6 separate regions of the Homo sapiens genome follow, and all the other regions are linked to region 3. Evidence: promoter capture Hi-C in 16 types of primary human blood cells and fetal thymus (Javierre and others, 2016). All regions are on one chromosome and are shown on one strand. The core of a region is centred on a gene start or on the middle of the fragment in contact, and the rest is flanking DNA. Distances in the headings are between cores, read along the strand shown. Region 1 has its middle 240 kb from the start of HULC. Region 2 has its middle 590 kb from the start of HULC. Region 3 holds the start of TFAP2A-AS1 (TFAP2A antisense RNA 1). Region 4 overlaps LOC100506207 (a long non-coding RNA gene). Region 5 overlaps LOC100506207 (a long non-coding RNA gene). Region 6 overlaps LOC100506207 (a long non-coding RNA gene).

Region 1 (2,700 bases), core at 199-2,698, 1.5 Mb before region 3:
TAACCTTGGTATCTGAAATGTTATCTTGTTTGGAAATAGGGTTTCTGCAAATGTAATCAAATTAAGATGAGGTCATGCTTGAGTACGGTCGCCCTTAATCCAACATGACTGGTATCTGTAAGAAGAGAGAAATGCCAAATGAATGTGGAGACACACACAGGAATACCAGGTGACAACAGAAGCAGATATTGAAGAGATGCAGCTGCAAGCCAAGAAACACTAAGGATTGGAGGCCACCTGCAGAAACTAGAAAAAGGTAAGGGAAGATTCTACCCAGAGTCTGAGACTTGCATGGTCCCGTTGATACCTTGACGCTGGGTTTATAGATTCCAGTGCTCAGACAGAATACATTTCTGTTGTTTTAAGCCACCTAGTGGTAGTTAGTTACAGCAGCCCTAGAAAATTACTGCACCCTGCAAGTTACAGTTTATAATAGGTGCTCAATTAATTCTTGTTAAAGAATGCAAGAGTGAGTGAATGAGTGATGGATGAATGAATATAATTATCCAATGTCCCATAGGGGAGTTTATAAACACATACAACTGAATGAGCTCATGTACGAGATGGTGTTGAATTGTTTAAATTCCAGGATAATATCCCTTGCAGTGAATATCTGTTCCTGGGGTTCTTCCTCTACATTCAAGTAAAACAAGTGGATTTTAACTTTTGGCTAAGCAAAGTGTAATTATAAAATGAAATAATTAGCAGAATATCACATAATGTTCTCTATCAAATAAAAATAGAAATGAATATATACTATTTTCCATTTGAAAATATGAAAGCGGAGACACCTCATTGGTATCAGAGTGATGAATGCTTTGTCATTACTATTTTACATTCGTCTATGATGTGATTTATAAATGTTTTATTATATAAATCATTAAGGAATTCTTTAGAATCTTTATCTTCATTTTATAGGTAGTGTAACTAAGGCATTTTAATTTCTAAATTAGGAACGTTTTAATGTTGAAACTAGGTCACATTTGTCGTCTGACTTTAATCCCTGTACCAAATAGAGTTGCTTGACAAAGAAAGATACTTCAGAACCATTGTATCTTCTTCAACCACAGTTTTAATTATTGGATAAGCTTCATCAATTTTAGCACAAATAAGCTCTGGTGAAATGAGAAAAAAAGATAAACATAGAAATGGACTTGAACATATAAAGAATATAGACATGAGTTATATTTTATCTTGTTCTGTTTCATATTTTATGTATACATACATACGTACACGAAGATGAGGATGCTAAGATGGAAGAGATATGTATCTATTTGCTTTAGAAAACACGTTTCCAGAATGCATAGTTTGCAAAAATTTTCCCCCATTCTTTAGGTTGTCTGTTTACTTTGTCGGTAGTTTCCTTTGCTGTGCAGAAGCTCTTCAGTTTAATCAGATCGCCTTTGTCAATTTTTGCTTTTGTTGCAATTGCCTTGGGCAGTTTCGTCATGAAATCTTTGCCCATGCCTATGTTCTGAATAGTGTTGCCTAAGTTGTCTTCCAGGCCATTATCCTTAGCAAACTAACACAGGGACAGAAAACCAAATACTGGATGTTCTCACGTATAAGAGGGAGCTGAATGATGAGAACACATGGAAACATACAGAGGAACAACACACTGAGGCCTTTCGGAGGGTGGTGGGTGGGAGGAGGGAGAGGATCAGGAAGAATAACTAATGAGTACTGGGCTTAATACCTGGTGATAAAATAATCAGTACAACAAACCCCCATGACACAAGTTTACCTATGTAACAAACCTGCACTTGTATCCCTGAACTCATAATAAAAATTTTTTTAAAAGTTTCTGTAAAGCTTGGCCTAGGTTGAAATTTATAGCGTCTAAAATACACTGTGTCAGGGATGCTGAGCTTAGTGAGCTCCATTTGGTAATAATAACCTGCATTGATGTTCATATCTTCTTATCTCTGTTCTCTTTGAACAACAGCTGACTTATTGGTGGTAGTTAAAACCCTCCATTTTTGGAGGTATTTTGTGTCTATCTTTTCTATTATTGCAATAAGCCTAAGAAGCCTGTTTCTTACAAATAAACTCTAGAAATTTCCCAATAGGGCAATACAAACTTTATGACCTGTTCCTTTGTATGATCACCATTGAAAATAAGTTCCCCTAAAAGGTAGTGTTACTTTGGCAATAGGTACAATGGATAACAGTTTTTGGCCCTGAGATTTCCTCAGGAACAGAGCTGTTCTCGATGTTTGGTTTGAGGTTATTTTATGGGCTTTAAGGAAAGGCTATTCTTATTAATGTGCAAATAATTACAGGTCCAGTTTTACTTGGACATTTATTCTCTTTTTTTCTTTTTTGAGATGGAGTCTCACTCTGTTGCCAGGCTGGAGTGCAGTGGTGCAATCTCAGCTCACTGCAACCTCTGCCTCCCGAGTTCAAGTGATTCTCCTGCCTCAGCCTCCCAAGTAGCTGGGACTGCAGGCACATGCCATCACGCCTGGCTAATTTTTGTATTTTTAGTAGAGACGGGGTTTCACCGTGTTGGTCAGGCTGGTCTCAAACTCCTGACCTTGTGATCTGCTCTCCTCGGCCTCCCAAAGTGCTGGGATTACAGGCATGAACCACCGTGCCCTGCCTGGACATTTACTTTCTGTGAATTTTATGTGTGCCTACTAATTAATCACAGCTATTTGATTACTGATTTAAAAAATGAGTACCTGTTAAACTCATTGG
Region 2 (2,700 bases), core at 117-2,616, 1.2 Mb before region 3:
GGGGCAGGCTCATAAGTTACTAATTACAGGACAATGTAGTCAGTGCCTGATAGATGGAAAAGTCCTATTTTTTTTTCTTTTCTTTTCTTTTTTAGACGGAGTCTCACTCTGTCGCCCAGGCTGGAGTGCAATGGCATGATCTTGGCTCACTGCAACCTCTGCCTCCCGAGTTCAAGTGATTCTCCTGCCTCGGCCTCCCAAATAGCTGGGATTACAGGCATGTGCCATCATGCCTGACTAATTTTTGTATTTTTAGTAGAGATGAGGTTTCACCATGTTGGCCAGACAGGTCTCAAACTCCTGACCTCAAGTGATCCACCTGCCTTAGCCTCCCAAAGTGTGGGGATTACAGGTGTGAGCCACTGCACCCAGCCTGAAAAGACCTATTTTTTAGAAGGAAAGAGGCGAGGGAAACTTTTATGTCCTTGGGAAAACAAGGGAAGGCTTGACATAGGAGATATTCCGTAACATTCAAGAACTTTCAGTTTTCTCATGCCAAAGCAAAAACAACTCTAACTGAAGAAGCCGGTGCATTTAATCTGTCACATTCATTGTCTCTCTGATGTGGTGTTGGGGATAAATCCTCGGGGAGGCCATTCCCTTTGTTTTCCCCCATGAATTCTCTGATGTTGGGGAACACATGTGCTTTAGGTGAAGGTGCTTCCCATGTTGATTCTATTTAAGGAATTCAATATGGTTTTGAGTGACATCTAGATAGTTCTCTTTTCTGTCCTTTTCAGAATCAGAGAAGGGTAGAAACAAAGCAAGGAGCAAGCTGTTTCAGGATAGTAATGGGATAGGGACCGAAGTGCCACAGCAAAGATGATGTGGCCCAGGGAGAATTACATTTCTATGAATTGATGAGAATGAAAGGGCGGAAGAAGAGAGGTAAAAGAGCGTTCAATTTGACTTTGGTTTGCCTTGGATACCTTAGTCCTCTTGGTCTCAGGCACTTTTTTGAATCAGATGCATCCAATGCGTCTCTTCCCATGATCCCCCCTGCACCTTTTCTTAGTGAAGACAACACCTCCAATGATCTAATCTGGCAAAAAGTGTCTCCCTGTTGGGCATTTTTGTCCCTGGGTAATTTTGATCTGAGCATAAAAATACCAGCAGGCCTGCTGTTTCCATAGACAAACCAGATGACCAACACAAAGTAAGGGGCTCAGGAGCAGGCATAACGTGGAAGAGAATAGAAAGCTTCATTTGGTTATCATAACCACTCTTTCTTTCTACTCTCAAAGCCACTGGCACGTAATCTGTCAACATATGCAGAAGTTATTTATTTCTCAAATGGACTTATATCCAGATTTGAAAAGAGTTGAGTTTTAGTATAAATAGATCAACAATTCTTGAATGTAGTTCTATTAGAGAACTCCACCAGAAGATATTATTATTTATTCAGCTTTGAGTTAAATGCAGGAAAGGTAGCAGCAAGCTGTCTACACCAGAAACCAGAAATCTTGAGTTCTCTGTGTGATCAGGAGCTTCTTGACCTCATCTATAAAATGAAAGAATGAGCTTGCTGTTTCCAAAGCTTACCTTTAGTCCTAGCATTACATAAGTAAAATATTTAGATATCAGATAACTTGGGTGGTGGCCAATTTTTATGCTGAAAATCTAGCAGAATTATTATAAATACAAGTTTTCTTAATTTAAGAAAAAGGAATCATTGGTATTATTTTGGATCTGCTAATTTAGTAACCTAATTTATGAACCTAACCAATTACTAATGATGACTTTAAGGTTTTTGTAGGATTATGATAATAATGTGAATGAAACTCTACTAGCTCATGGTCTTAAAGTTTTGTATAAACAGTTTTGGCATATCTTATCTATTTTATGATCTACAATAGACAACTTAATCCTATTATGACAAGAAGTAGTTGGCAGCTTGAAATATGCATTTAGGAACCTAAATCAGGAGCTTGGCACTAAAAATCAGGTATGTGAAGAATCAAGTGTAATATGAGGTTCTAAATATAGAAATTTGTTCACTAATAAGGTCTAAAGCTTGGAAATTAGGCCAGCGTTGTGCTTTACAAGCTAAATAGCTACAGTTAAAGCCAAAATTGGGAACTTTGGGCAAACATTTAGATGCTGCTGCTGCTTTGAAGTTTAGAAAAATGATATGAATAACTACAAACGAATGTCACATTGATTTTTATTTGAGTTAATTATCAACTTTTCAACATGTTTTTCTTTTTATATATACAGTATTTTGAGTGAGTAATAGTCTGAATAGTTACAGAACTTTTTTTTCTTAACTTGTAGGTATGGAAGTCTCAGTTTTTAATTAACTATATATATATATTATAATTTTATAAAGAAAATAATTTGCAAGTATTTGGGAGGGTAAGTAAGTGGTAATATTTCTTATTAAAATCTTATTGGTAGAGAATATAGGAAAAATTAGATGTATAGAGAGCAATCTGTTTGCTCTTGGAAGACAAATATTTATGATTTTATTATAAGATGTAAATTTTCATGACTGGAAAATATGAGAATAAAATTATTTATATCAAGATTCTTCAACCAGTAGAGTATAGGATAATCCAGCCTGTGCACCAGGCTTAGAAACCATGTAATACAGTTATATATGCAACATGAAATTTTTAATCAGAAATCTCTGGATTTAAATATCTAGAAGACATTTGCTATTTTCTAGTTATTAACTTTTAAGTATTTATTTTGTATATA
Region 3 (2,700 bases), core at 14-2,513:
CCCCGCCCCTTCCACCCCAGCCCCAAAGGGCAGAAGAAACGCCTGACTTTAGGTTTCTCTATTGCAATTCCCTTGCAAAACAAGCGAAGAGAGTTGATTCCAGAGACCGCGAACCCTCGGCGGTTCGGCCGCAGGTCCCGAGGGTAGGGGGCACACCGCGCTGCACTTTTCCTGCAGACAGTTTAAGCATCAAATGTTGAGAACATCTCGGGGACAAGTGAAGACTCAAGGAAATCAAGATGAACGTGGGGAGAAACACGCCTTGGGAAGCCGCGGCGAGGTAGGTCTGCGTGCTCGGAGAGGTCGAGCGGGGGCTGGGGTAGGGGGTAATGCACTCGATTTAGGGATGGAAAAGAGCGAGAGAAAGGCGGAAGGTGGGGTGGGGGATGCAAATGGAGAGGGTGTCCTGAAGGAAAGCTGGGCGTGAAACCCGAGGTTTCGGGCAGCTCCACGGCACCAGGTTTCCAGAATCCAATTCCTAAAGAAACAGCAACGGGGGTGGGGATGGGACTCACCATGGCTGAAAAACTGTGAACTAACATCTGCGAAGAGTCTGGGGTAACGAGTCAGGGTGGAAAAAAACAAGCAAGCCTGGAGCGCCCGGCTGCCCCGCCGCCCGAGCGCGCCCCACACAAAAGGCGCCGAGAGCCCCGCGCCACCCAGGACTCCAGTCACGGCGCCGACGCTCCCCGGAGCGCGGGAGCCCGGCTCGGATCCATCCGAACTTGAACCACCGATTCGCGCGGCGCCTTCAGCTGGTCGAACCCACGGTCTCTATCCTGCCGCGACTGGTTATGATTCAAAGTTCTTTAAAAATGAAAAACCCCAAAAAAGGAAAAAGGAAAAAGTATGTGTGAGTGTGTGGGTGCGTGCGTGTTCCTTAATCCGTGTCTCCCCCTCTTTTCTTAGCGGCGGCTTCGCTTGAGCTTCTAATAACCGCGCTGGGCAGCGTTCCTGGAGCCTCCTAATAGCAGATATTCATGACTATTAATATTACACGAATACTTAATAAGGGAAGAATGCCTGGAAATCGAGCGTGAAGCGGAGAGGCAACTCGCGCCGGAGCCGGCTCTCAATGCAGTCCATTGACGGGAGTCTCAGTGTAGCAAATCGGAGTGGGGAGAGGGAGCGCGAGAGACAAAAAGCGAGCGAGAGAGGGAGCGGGCGAGCGCGCGGGGGGCCGCGGCGCGGCGTCTGGCGAATCACAGGGAAGGGGCAACATTTTAAAAGGTTGCAGGGCATGCAAAAGTGAAAGAGAAAGAGGCAGAGAGGGAGACCGAAGGAGAGAGCGCAGAGAGGGAGAATGTGTCTGCGTGCGTGTGTGAGAAAGAAAGTGTGGGCGAGGGAGAGGAGCCCCGGGTGGGGAGAGGGGAGGGAGGGAAGGAGGGAGAGCCCGAGAGGAGGAAGGGAGGGAAAGAGGGAGGGAGGAAGGGAGGGAGGGAGGGGGAGGGGGCCCAGCCGGAGCGCACGGAGGGGGAGGCCGCGGGGGAGGGGGAAGGGGAGAGGAAGCGAGCGAGGACAATCAGACCTAAAAGGCTGGGGCAGACCTCGGGATGCAGCGGGGGTCGTGCGTAGCGGGTAGGAGCTGCTTGGGACCGCGTCCGGGCGCTCGTGGGGCTCTCGGCGCGGCAGGCGCTTCCCGGCCCTGTCTGGCCGCGGGCTCCGCCGCTTCGCAGCCGAGTCTGGGACTCGGGACTCGGCTGCCCGCTGCTGCGCGGCTCCTCCATGACCCGGCGCCCTGCCCGGGACCGGCCCGCTCGCTGCACTGGTCCTCTCCTCGGCCTCCTCTTGAGCTTTCCTCGGACAGGGGCACCGTGCGCTCCCCGGCCACCGTCGCTCTGCCCTCGGCTCTCTGGGGCCGGGGATTCCGGATCGGGAGCCGGGATGCGGGCCGGGGCGCGCACAGACGCTAGGCGGCCCAGCCCGGGCGCCGCTGGCACCGGCTCGCGGCTCCCGGCAAAAACCCGTCCGACTGGCTGGGCCACTCCCGCCTGACGCCCCCCCAGATGACACGACTAGCTCTCCCGGCGTGCTGCCTTTGCCAGTCTACCCGCCAGGTTGTCAGAACAAGCGGCACCTCGCCTCCTGCGTGTCCCTACAGAGCCCCGGCACAATCAGACTGCCCCAAGCCAGCTCCGAAACCCGAAATCCCCGCTCCGGCGCTTGCCCACCACGGCCAAAGTTGTGGAAACAGCTTTGACTTTATTCTCCTCTCTCTCTCATCTTTTTTTGCCTCGCTTACACACGCATTCACACTTGCCCCCACAGGATCCCTCTAGGGGTGCAAGTTCATCCCCCACCTAGCCACCCACCCCATCCAGTCGGCACCTAGAGCCGCACGGAGGTTCGGACCCCGCCCGCCGAGGGCGCCCACACCTGGAGCTGGGTTTCGGCCTCTGCGAAAGTGAAATGCCCAAGCCTCCGGCCAAAGCCCAGACCAGTACAGTATGAATTGTCCTATGAGACTGAGGGGTTCGGCTTCATTCCTACCTGCCCGCAAAGCTCGCCCCCAGCCTCGAAAACAAAGCGACTGGTCTGACGTGGGGTCCCTGCGCCCCTCCTCTAGCGCGACAGGACCCCCCCAGGGAAGAGCCAGTACCCGTGGGATGTCACCCCGTCCCCATCTACCGGGGTGGGGGGCCTGAAAGGAGAACGATTTAAAATAATCTTCAGAAAGAAAAGGGAGGAGGGAGCGGGTGA
Region 4 (2,700 bases), core at 166-2,665, 2.0 Mb before region 3:
AAATTTTTAAGAAATTAATAATTCTGTAGTATCAGAAACCTTTGGTGTCTTGATTCACATCTTCTGAGCATCACCTCTCATTTCTGACTTGGTTGTGGGGGGCAGTTTCATGCAATCTTACACATTCTTCTCCCTGACAGCTTCTCCTCTCCCACATTTACCAGGCCTCTTTGCTTTCTTCCCTGAGGTTCTTCGGACTTCACACATTCCAGCAGTAGCTCTCTCAGCTCCTGTCCTGCACAGCTTTGAAGTGCTGGTAAGTCAACACATCTGGGGCCCTTCAACCAAGGGGTGACAGTCACTGATGGATAAATGCTCTTGCTTCTTACACTTGAGCAAGATAGTTTTGTAGGCCATTCTGTGTGTTTTTCAAAAAGTCCCAGTGAAATTGGGTTCTGGTTTCTCACAACAGCAACTTCAATAACACATTCTTGTATTATGTCTATATTCTCCCTTCCATTCTCTCATTGTTTCTCACTAGGATCACATCCCAAATTACCTGTCCCCACATAAGTAGTTGTCTCAGGTTTTGAGGGAAACCAAGCTAAGAAATTTGATGTAAGAAGAAAGTCTAGAATGCAGCTCCTCAGAACTCTGGAAGTGGGTTACTTTGCAGTCAGATGACAACAAGGACTTTCTTAGTGATATTAAGGGGAGGACATGTGCATGGCCCAACAATTAAGGCTCTTTCTTACTAAAGCCGATATGACTACTGCCTCTTTGGATGTCCAGCCCATCAGCAGCAAAGATTGATGGTAAATTCCATAAGGAGAGCAATTACACAAAAGTCCTTCCTTCCTGGAGAGAGCCGTGGTTTGTACTTACGGAACTGACACTTCCCTTGATATGACTGGTCTTGTTCATGGTGCCTCTGCCAGTACCATTATATAACAGAGTTACAAACACATGATTGATTGACTTCCTTCCTTCCTTCCTTCCTTCCTTTCTTTCTTTCTTTTTTCTTTCTTTCTTTCTTTCTTTCTTTCTTTCTTTCTTTCTTTCTTTCTTTCCTTCTTTTTTTCTTTCTTTTTCTTTCTTCCTTCCTTCCTTTTTCTTTTTCTTTCTTTCTCTTTCTCTTCCTTCCTTCCTTTTTCTTTTTCTTTCTTTCTCTTCCTTCCTTTTTCTTTCTTTCTTTCTCTCTTTCCTTTCTCTCTCTCTTTTCCTTCTTTCTTTTCTTTTTTCTTCCTTCCTTTCTTTTTTCTTTCTTTCCCTTCCTTCCCTCCATCTCCTCCCTCCCTCCCTCCCTTCCTTCCTTCCTCTTTCTTTCTCTCTTTCCCTCCCTCCCTCCCTCCCTTCCTTCCTTCCTTTCTTCCTTCTTTGACACAGAGTCTCACTCTGTTGCCCAGGCTGGAATGCAGTGGCACAACCTCTGCCTCCCAGGTTCAAGCCATTCTCCTGCCTCAGCCTCCCCAGTAGCTGGGATTACAGGTGCCTGCCACTACACCTGGCTAATTTTTTTGTATTTTTGGTAGAGACACGGTTTCACCATGTTGGCCAGGCTGGTTGTGAACTCCTGACCTCAAGTGATCTGCCCACCTCAGCCTCCTAAAGTGGTGCAATTACAAGCGTGAGCCACCACACCCAGCCCAAACACATGATTTTCTGATGTATTGCCTCCAACTAAAGGACACACTTTATGGTAAAAGAGGTGTGACAATGACACACGACCATGGAATTCCACTGGTCCTACCATATATTGTATCAACTGGAGGAAATTGGCCTGATAGAACACTGACATTGTTTTGTGAACATCAGCAAGTATCCTTTTCAGGAACAGTGCTCAGATAGGGTTGAGATGCCGTCACTCCTGACACACACACACACACACACACACACACACACACACACACACACCTGGCCCTTGGGAAGTTTGGTGGCATTAACACCCCCAGGCAATGATCCACCAATGGGGAATGGGCACCTATGGATAAATGCCTTCCATTTCCTAGGAGCAATTTTTGGGAGGTGTTTTTATGTATTTTAGGATGTCCTAGATAATCAAGTCATGTGACTTGGGGGAGCGAGAAAGAGAAACCAGCAGTGGAGACTTAGAAGAAGCAGCTGTTGACATAGGATGGGTCCAGGAATGTACAGTCTTCTAAAAGCCAGGTGAAGACAATGTTTAAAGGAGGAAGGAGTGATCAACAATGTCAGTTCGTGTCAATTGGTGTTACTTAGTCATGTGTCTGTGAAGAATCATCTTGCATAGTTAAGTCTCAGGTTCTAGTGTCAGATTAAATTTAAATCCTTGCACCACCCCTTGCTCTTTGAGTGTCTTTGTGCAAATTGCTTAAATTCTCTAAGTCTCAATCTCCCCATCTGTGAAATGGGAATGACAGTAGTACCTATGTGGTAAATTGTAGTGATGAGTAAGTGAAAGATGTTTAAAGATGGTTAAATGGTTAGCACAACACCTATTACCTGACAAACACTTAGTAAAAGTTAGCTATTAATATTCTTATTAATATAGCCTACTATCATTAGAATAATCCATTTATATATAGTCATCAGTTGTCACTTTTCTAGCTCTTCCATAAGGAATAGGTTATATAGCATTTCCAAACTAGGAAGTTCATTGATAGATATATGGTTCCAGATGCACTGAGCAGAAAAACTAGTTAATTTGATTTTCATTAAATATCCATTTAATAAATACTTATTGAGCACTTACTCTGCATGCTACTGGGTATTGTGGATATG
Region 5 (2,700 bases), core at 9-2,508, 1.7 Mb before region 3:
TTTTATGATCCTGCTGAATCAAGGTACTAAAACATGAGTTAAATGAAGAGGCGTGGTGGTTTTAATGAAGAAAAATAAAACAATTTAAGCGTTGCCAGGTGGAAAATGAAACAATCTCTTTATATGGAATGTGTAGAAAGGGATGAGGCACAGGGATGTTTTGGAAGGCAGTTTCCAATGTCAGGAATTTTTTGCCATGGTCTTTGATCTGCAGGCCAATTTCAGTCTTGGTCTAAAAGAAAAAATGAAGAGGAAAACTATTACTTGCTTTAATGAAAAAAGTCTCAGTGAACCAAGACTGACTATGGAAAAACAGCCAGGAGAAAGGATGCTGATTCAAATAAACAAAACTTAAAACCAAAAATCGGAATGAAACTAAAATCTCCCAAACACACATACACACACACACACACACACATATCCCCCAATTCCCAGACATCACCACCACCAATTGCTTAATATGCTGTCCATACACAACTATATTATTATTTAGTATCCTCTGGCTACAATTTCTTTTTAGTGAGTAGTACTTCTCTTTCTTTCCAGGCTTAAGACATTAGTGCTATCTGATAACTTTATTATCTACATAATTCAGCTTCTAAAATTATGTGAACAATCACATGCCTAGGAAACATGGCCCATAGTAATTGATGTTTTTCATTGTCACTCTGCTGGTAGAATGTATTCTGATTTTGTTGCATGGACTGGCTTTTACAAGTAAAAACCACATTGATATTAAAGAAAAAGTGGCAGGAATGTTGTTGCCTCTCTTTGGTGCCCTGCCACAGACAAAGCTGACTTGGGCGGCTGTGTCTATATCCCAGATATATGGAATTCTGGATAAAACAGGGCTTGTTTAAAACAAAACAAAGCAAAATATTTGGCTAAGCTCAAAAACAGGAAAAGGGAAATCTTGAGTTGCCAGAAAAAGAAATGCAGAGTCACGGAATTGAACCACAGCCTGCCTGGGGTGTTTCAGGGCTTTCAGGCTGGATATTTTTCTTAGGTGTTTGGGTTTCCGTACCAATGGGTCTAAGACACTGTGGGATGTGGAAGTGTTGTTTTATCTTTTAACCTGGATAAAACCACTACCAAATCTAATGTCTAAGGGAGTCTCCTGGAAGCCATGCACCCACCCTTAGTTATAGATAGAAACAGAAGCCCTTGTGAGAAACTAGAATTCCATGCTACTGTGAATACAGGTAAAAAAGTTCTATAAAATGGACAAGAAACTGATACCATAAAACTGACACATCACCCTAAGCTAAAACTGAAAACCAAATGCAACCAACAGGAAAATCCTCTTGAGACTGCAGATAATAGAAAAATCTGAAAAAGAACTTAAATGGTAATGTTTAGAATTTTCATAGATGAAGAAATGGATTGTATCTCTGTTACAGAAACAAAGAAAGCAGATTGGAAAGTGAAACAAATATAAATTTTAAGAGTGAATTTAAAATTAAAAACTTAAGTGAAAAATATATTAGATATATTTCTACCAATTCTGAAATTAGATATATCGCAAAGGGTGTGGGTAGGGGAAGTAGAAAGCAAACTACTATTTAGTGAAGAGTAACTTAAACCCAATGAACCAACAGTTTTTCAGTTGAGGGCTTTCTCCTTAATTTCTTATGAAGCCATTTAGGCAACAAACTTATCTAAAGTATTTATTTCCTTTACATCCTTCAAATTCTAAAAATAATGATTGATTTGCAAACTTTAACTCATAGCATTATTTTATTGTTTGTTTTATTTATTTTTATTTTTTTTGAGACGGAGTTTCTCTCTGTCACCCAGGCTGGAGTGCAATGGCGCGATCTCGGCTCGCTGCAACCTCCGCCTCCCAGGCTCAAGAGATTCTCCAGCCTCAGCCCCCTGAGTAGCTGGGATTACAGGCACCCGCCACCATGCCCGGCTAATTTTGTATTATTAGTAGAGACGGGGTGTCACCACGTTGGTCAGGGTCGTCCTTCTGTCTTGATCTTGTCTGAGAACTGAGCATGATTTCTTTCATTCTACAATGCCATAAAAACATACTCAAGAGCTTTTTGCTCATAAATTCTTCAGGCGTTGTTTGCCCGTTATTTTCTAAGAAGAGAACCGAAATAACACAAATCCTACTCTGCGTATCCTTATTCTATTGTGCCCATTTTTATAGAAAAGGTTTCTGCATTACCCACATTCAGATCTCTATTGCAATCGATGTTAAACACGTCACTCTAAAATAGCTAGACTGTAGGCAATTTCGTTTTCCCGGCTATTTTTCTGTTTGTTGTTGTTTTTTCTTAAGGCACATACCAGCGGTCTGCTTTCACTTCTCTGAATATTCATTTAGCCCAGAGGTTCACTCTAAGCAGCCGTAATGCCACTTTCTCAAGACATCAATAAATCTGATATATTTTGAGTATTTATCTCACAGGCAATAAATATCGTTACACAAACTACATTTCATGAATTAGCTCAAATTACATTTGGGCTGCTTCGGAGCTGCAGAGAAAGGTGCTAAACATTTGATACAACACAAAATTATATTTAACTTCAAGGGAGAACAAAACTTCTGATTCTCTCATTAAAAGTAAAGGTGAAAAATCTGTTTTTTTCTTTTTTTAAATCAAGTCGTTTATTTTCATTTATCTGTCATTTTTATTAAAGGACTTCATAGTGATGTATGTTTCCTGAAGTTTAGGTGTAAATTAAAAT
Region 6 (2,700 bases), core at 35-2,534, 1.7 Mb before region 3:
AAACTAAATATTTGAGGTGTGCAATTTCATGATTTGATGGATATATGTATAATCACCACAATAAAGCTCATAATATATCCATTACCTCAGATAGTTTTCTTTCTTTCTTCCTTTTTCTTTTTTCGATGAGGAGGTGGTGAGAATACTTAAGATATATCCTCTTAGCAAATTTCAAGTTGTATAGCTTACTTAAATTATTTTCTTTCAACCTATAAGGCAGGAAGGGAAATAATTATTATCCCCATTTTCAAATAGAGAAACAGAGGCTGAGGTTTGCAGACATCAAGTGCCTTATCCAAGGTCATGCATCCTTATGCTAAGTGCCAAAGTCATGATGAAGACTAGCTCTTTGGAGTTCTAATACAAGACTTGTTTATGACTTCCCATTGCCCCTTTAAAAAACAAAACAACAACTAATTGATGGTGCATGATAAATGATAAATACAGTTATATCAGAAAAATGCTTATTTTTTGTGGCAGTGATGACTGGGAATTCCCTCCCTCTATGAAGGAGAGAGTGAAGCACTGGGTTTTGGGCCAATTTATCTAAAAGTGAAAGAGCCTGGTCTTGGGGAAATGATCAGTGGTGGAAGGAGGAAATGCACATGCAAGGCCCGCAGTGGATCAGTGTTCTGCGATGATTGAAGGCGCCCTTGGACTTGGATGGGCATCCTGACATTGTCTAGTCCTGACTGTTCATTTCTCAAGATTCTTGTTAGCTGCCAAGGTCTAGTAGGATGAGACCACATTAATGTCAATGAAGTCCAGTCAGTTCGAGACAGCTTTGTTTTTCTACAATTAAAACAATGAGGCAATGACTCTCAATCATGATCTCTTGGGTCTATTTCCCCTGGATACTAACTAATGGTGGTTCCAATTCTTTTAAAACAGACTATATTTTTTTTTTCTCACATGAGTTCACACACACAAATGCATGTGGTTTTGGTCCACATGCATTTCATATGACTCTGAAGTATAGCGTTATTGGTGAACATAAAAGCAATCAGACTTGATTACCGTTCAAGAGGGACTCTGAAAAGAGCATCCACGAATAATGCCCTGGACTCCTGGAAAGCTTGGTGTATCATTCCTTCTTCTTTTTTTTAAGAGCACTGGACCTTAGACAGTAGATGGCAGTGTGAGATGGGAAATTTAAGTCTTGGCAGCGATATGCTTGAAACCAGCCCAGTAAAAATGGCTTTTTGACTTGGAAGCATTTATGAAATGAACTTTCAGTCGGAGTTTTGTCTGACAGCCAGGATTCCACCCTGCGAGGTGTTGGCAACCCACAGGTGAGGCTGTGTAAGTGCTTTGTTTGAACCGAGGCTGTTGCACTGCTCGGAAGCAAGGTGGGGAGCATTTGAGCAAAATCATTGTCACAGAGCCAAGCAAACTGCCACTCAGGTCTCTTGGCACTCCTGTTCCCCCTGGCATAGTTAGAGCCACTCCTCTTTGCCTTTCTGGGAAATTCATTGTGTTTAAATCTAATAAGTAGAAGCTTTGATATATCCAAAATGTTGTTGCTGCTTCAGGTATTTACTTAATCTTTCCTTTCCTTTCTATCCTAAACCCCTTAAAAGTCTGAAGCAGTGAGTGAGGGAGTTTCCAAACTGAAAAGCAAATTAGATTATTCATGGGAGAATTGCTCAATCTGAAAGTACACTATTCCCCATGGCTTATCAAATGATGGATTCTATTTAGAATCTTTAAGAAATCATGGAAAATAGGGCAGTGTTGAAGCAGGTTTGGGTGTCTCTTCTATTAAAGACTCTTGACAGTGGCAGGATTTGGTATCTACAGTTACCTGGTAAACCTGGATCCCTCTAGAACACCTTATAACACGCAGGTGTATTTTAAGCACAGAAGAAGTAGCATAAAACATTTGTTTTACACAATATTCTATTTCATAGAGAAGAGGTTAGAGGATCCTTGCTGCGCATGCAGTCACTGAAGAATCAGAATAGGGTCCATAATGAGTGTATCCTAAAGTTAGTAATTATTCTGCTTCTTGAACCTATCTGAAAACTACATTCCCTTAATTTAGGTATAATTTCTAGACTAGCTAAATCTCAGCTTTTATGTGATATAATATACATTACTTAACCCTCCATAAGATCTTGTTTTCCCAACTGTAGAATGAGGATAATAAAAGTACTTGCTTCATAGAGCCTGTTATACCATAAATATTGCCATTATAATACAGTTTGCTATACAACAAATATTAGCCATTATTATTACATATATGTTGATGAGTGCAGGCATATTTTCAAACAAAATTACTTTCTCTCCACTTCCCGAAATAATTCAAGAGGATAGTGAACACTAGTAATACTCTAAGTCAAACAAAATTAAGTAGATAAGTCTGCTCAAAATATACTGTGTACACAATTAAGTGCAGGAAAATTTAAGACTACCTGTAAAAACACTCATTTTCATCAATATGCTTCAGAGGAGAAGAATAGAATGTTACACAAGCCTCCACACACATACTGTGTATGCGCATTCACATGCCCATATATTTTCATTCATTACTTAAAACAGTGCTTTGGTTAACCAGGTGTGGAGACACATTTTCAGGACAAGAGAAATAGAAGCATGAGAATAAAGTATTGCCAGAAGTCACATTCACCTCTTCTTTTTAACAGGCAGAATTTCTGTTTATCAAGTGAGATTGGGGTCAAAGCTTGAAGGGGTAGAGTG

What was found. The method cuts DNA at HindIII sites, captures the fragments that hold promoters and counts their contacts. A CHiCAGO score of 5 or more calls a contact.
Region 1: a fragment that was not itself captured here is called in contact with the fragment with the promoter of TFAP2A-AS1 in region 3 in 1 of 17 cell types (M1 macrophages); the score reaches 5.1 in M1 macrophages.
Region 2: a fragment that was not itself captured here is called in contact with the fragment with the promoter of TFAP2A-AS1 in region 3 in 1 of 17 cell types (endothelial precursors); the score reaches 5.2 in endothelial precursors.
Region 4: a contact is called between a fragment that was not itself captured here and the fragment with the promoter of TFAP2A-AS1 in region 3, in 1 of 17 cell types (M2 macrophages). The highest score is 6.0, in M2 macrophages.
Region 5: a fragment that was not itself captured here is called in contact with the fragment with the promoter of TFAP2A-AS1 in region 3 in 1 of 17 cell types (M2 macrophages); the score reaches 8.3 in M2 macrophages.
Region 6: a fragment that was not itself captured here is called in contact with the fragment with the promoter of TFAP2A-AS1 in region 3 in 2 of 17 cell types (M0 macrophages and megakaryocytes); the score reaches 9.4 in M0 macrophages.

Annotation. Positions count from the first base shown.
Region 1 is chr6:8,888,271-8,890,970 of GRCh38, forward strand. No RefSeq gene overlaps it. Among named protein-coding and RNA genes, the nearest start is that of HULC, 240 kb to the left of the region's middle. The HindIII fragment of the contact is 724 bases long and covers 1,087-1,810 here.
Region 2 is chr6:9,244,983-9,247,682 of GRCh38, forward strand. No RefSeq gene overlaps it. Among named protein-coding and RNA genes, the nearest start is that of HULC, 590 kb to the left of the region's middle. The HindIII fragment of the contact is 337 bases long and covers 1,199-1,535 here.
Region 3 is chr6:10,411,055-10,413,754 of GRCh38, forward strand. It overlaps TFAP2A-AS1 (TFAP2A antisense RNA 1), which reads left to right and starts at 1,264. Exons shown (of 3, transcript NR_033910.1): 1 at 1,264-1,313. The region is part of intron 1 of TFAP2A (transcription factor AP-2 alpha); the gene reads right to left. RefSeq lists a silencer at 1,504-1,863. The HindIII fragment of the contact is 20,769 bases long and covers 1-2,700 here.
Region 4 is chr6:8,437,776-8,440,475 of GRCh38, forward strand. LOC100506207 (a long non-coding RNA gene) reads left to right here. Exons shown (of 5, transcript NR_038980.1): 2 at 165-256. Among named protein-coding and RNA genes, the nearest start is that of SLC35B3, 3.6 kb to the left of the region's middle. The HindIII fragment of the contact is 6,003 bases long and covers 1-2,700 here.
Region 5 is chr6:8,723,947-8,726,646 of GRCh38, forward strand. The region is part of intron 3 of LOC100506207 (a long non-coding RNA gene); the gene reads left to right. Among named protein-coding and RNA genes, the nearest start is that of HULC, 73 kb to the left of the region's middle. The HindIII fragment of the contact is 3,097 bases long and covers 1-2,700 here.
Region 6 is chr6:8,706,952-8,709,651 of GRCh38, forward strand. All of the region lies in intron 3 of LOC100506207 (a long non-coding RNA gene), which reads left to right. Among named protein-coding and RNA genes, the nearest start is that of HULC, 56 kb to the left of the region's middle. The HindIII fragment of the contact is 423 bases long and covers 1,074-1,496 here.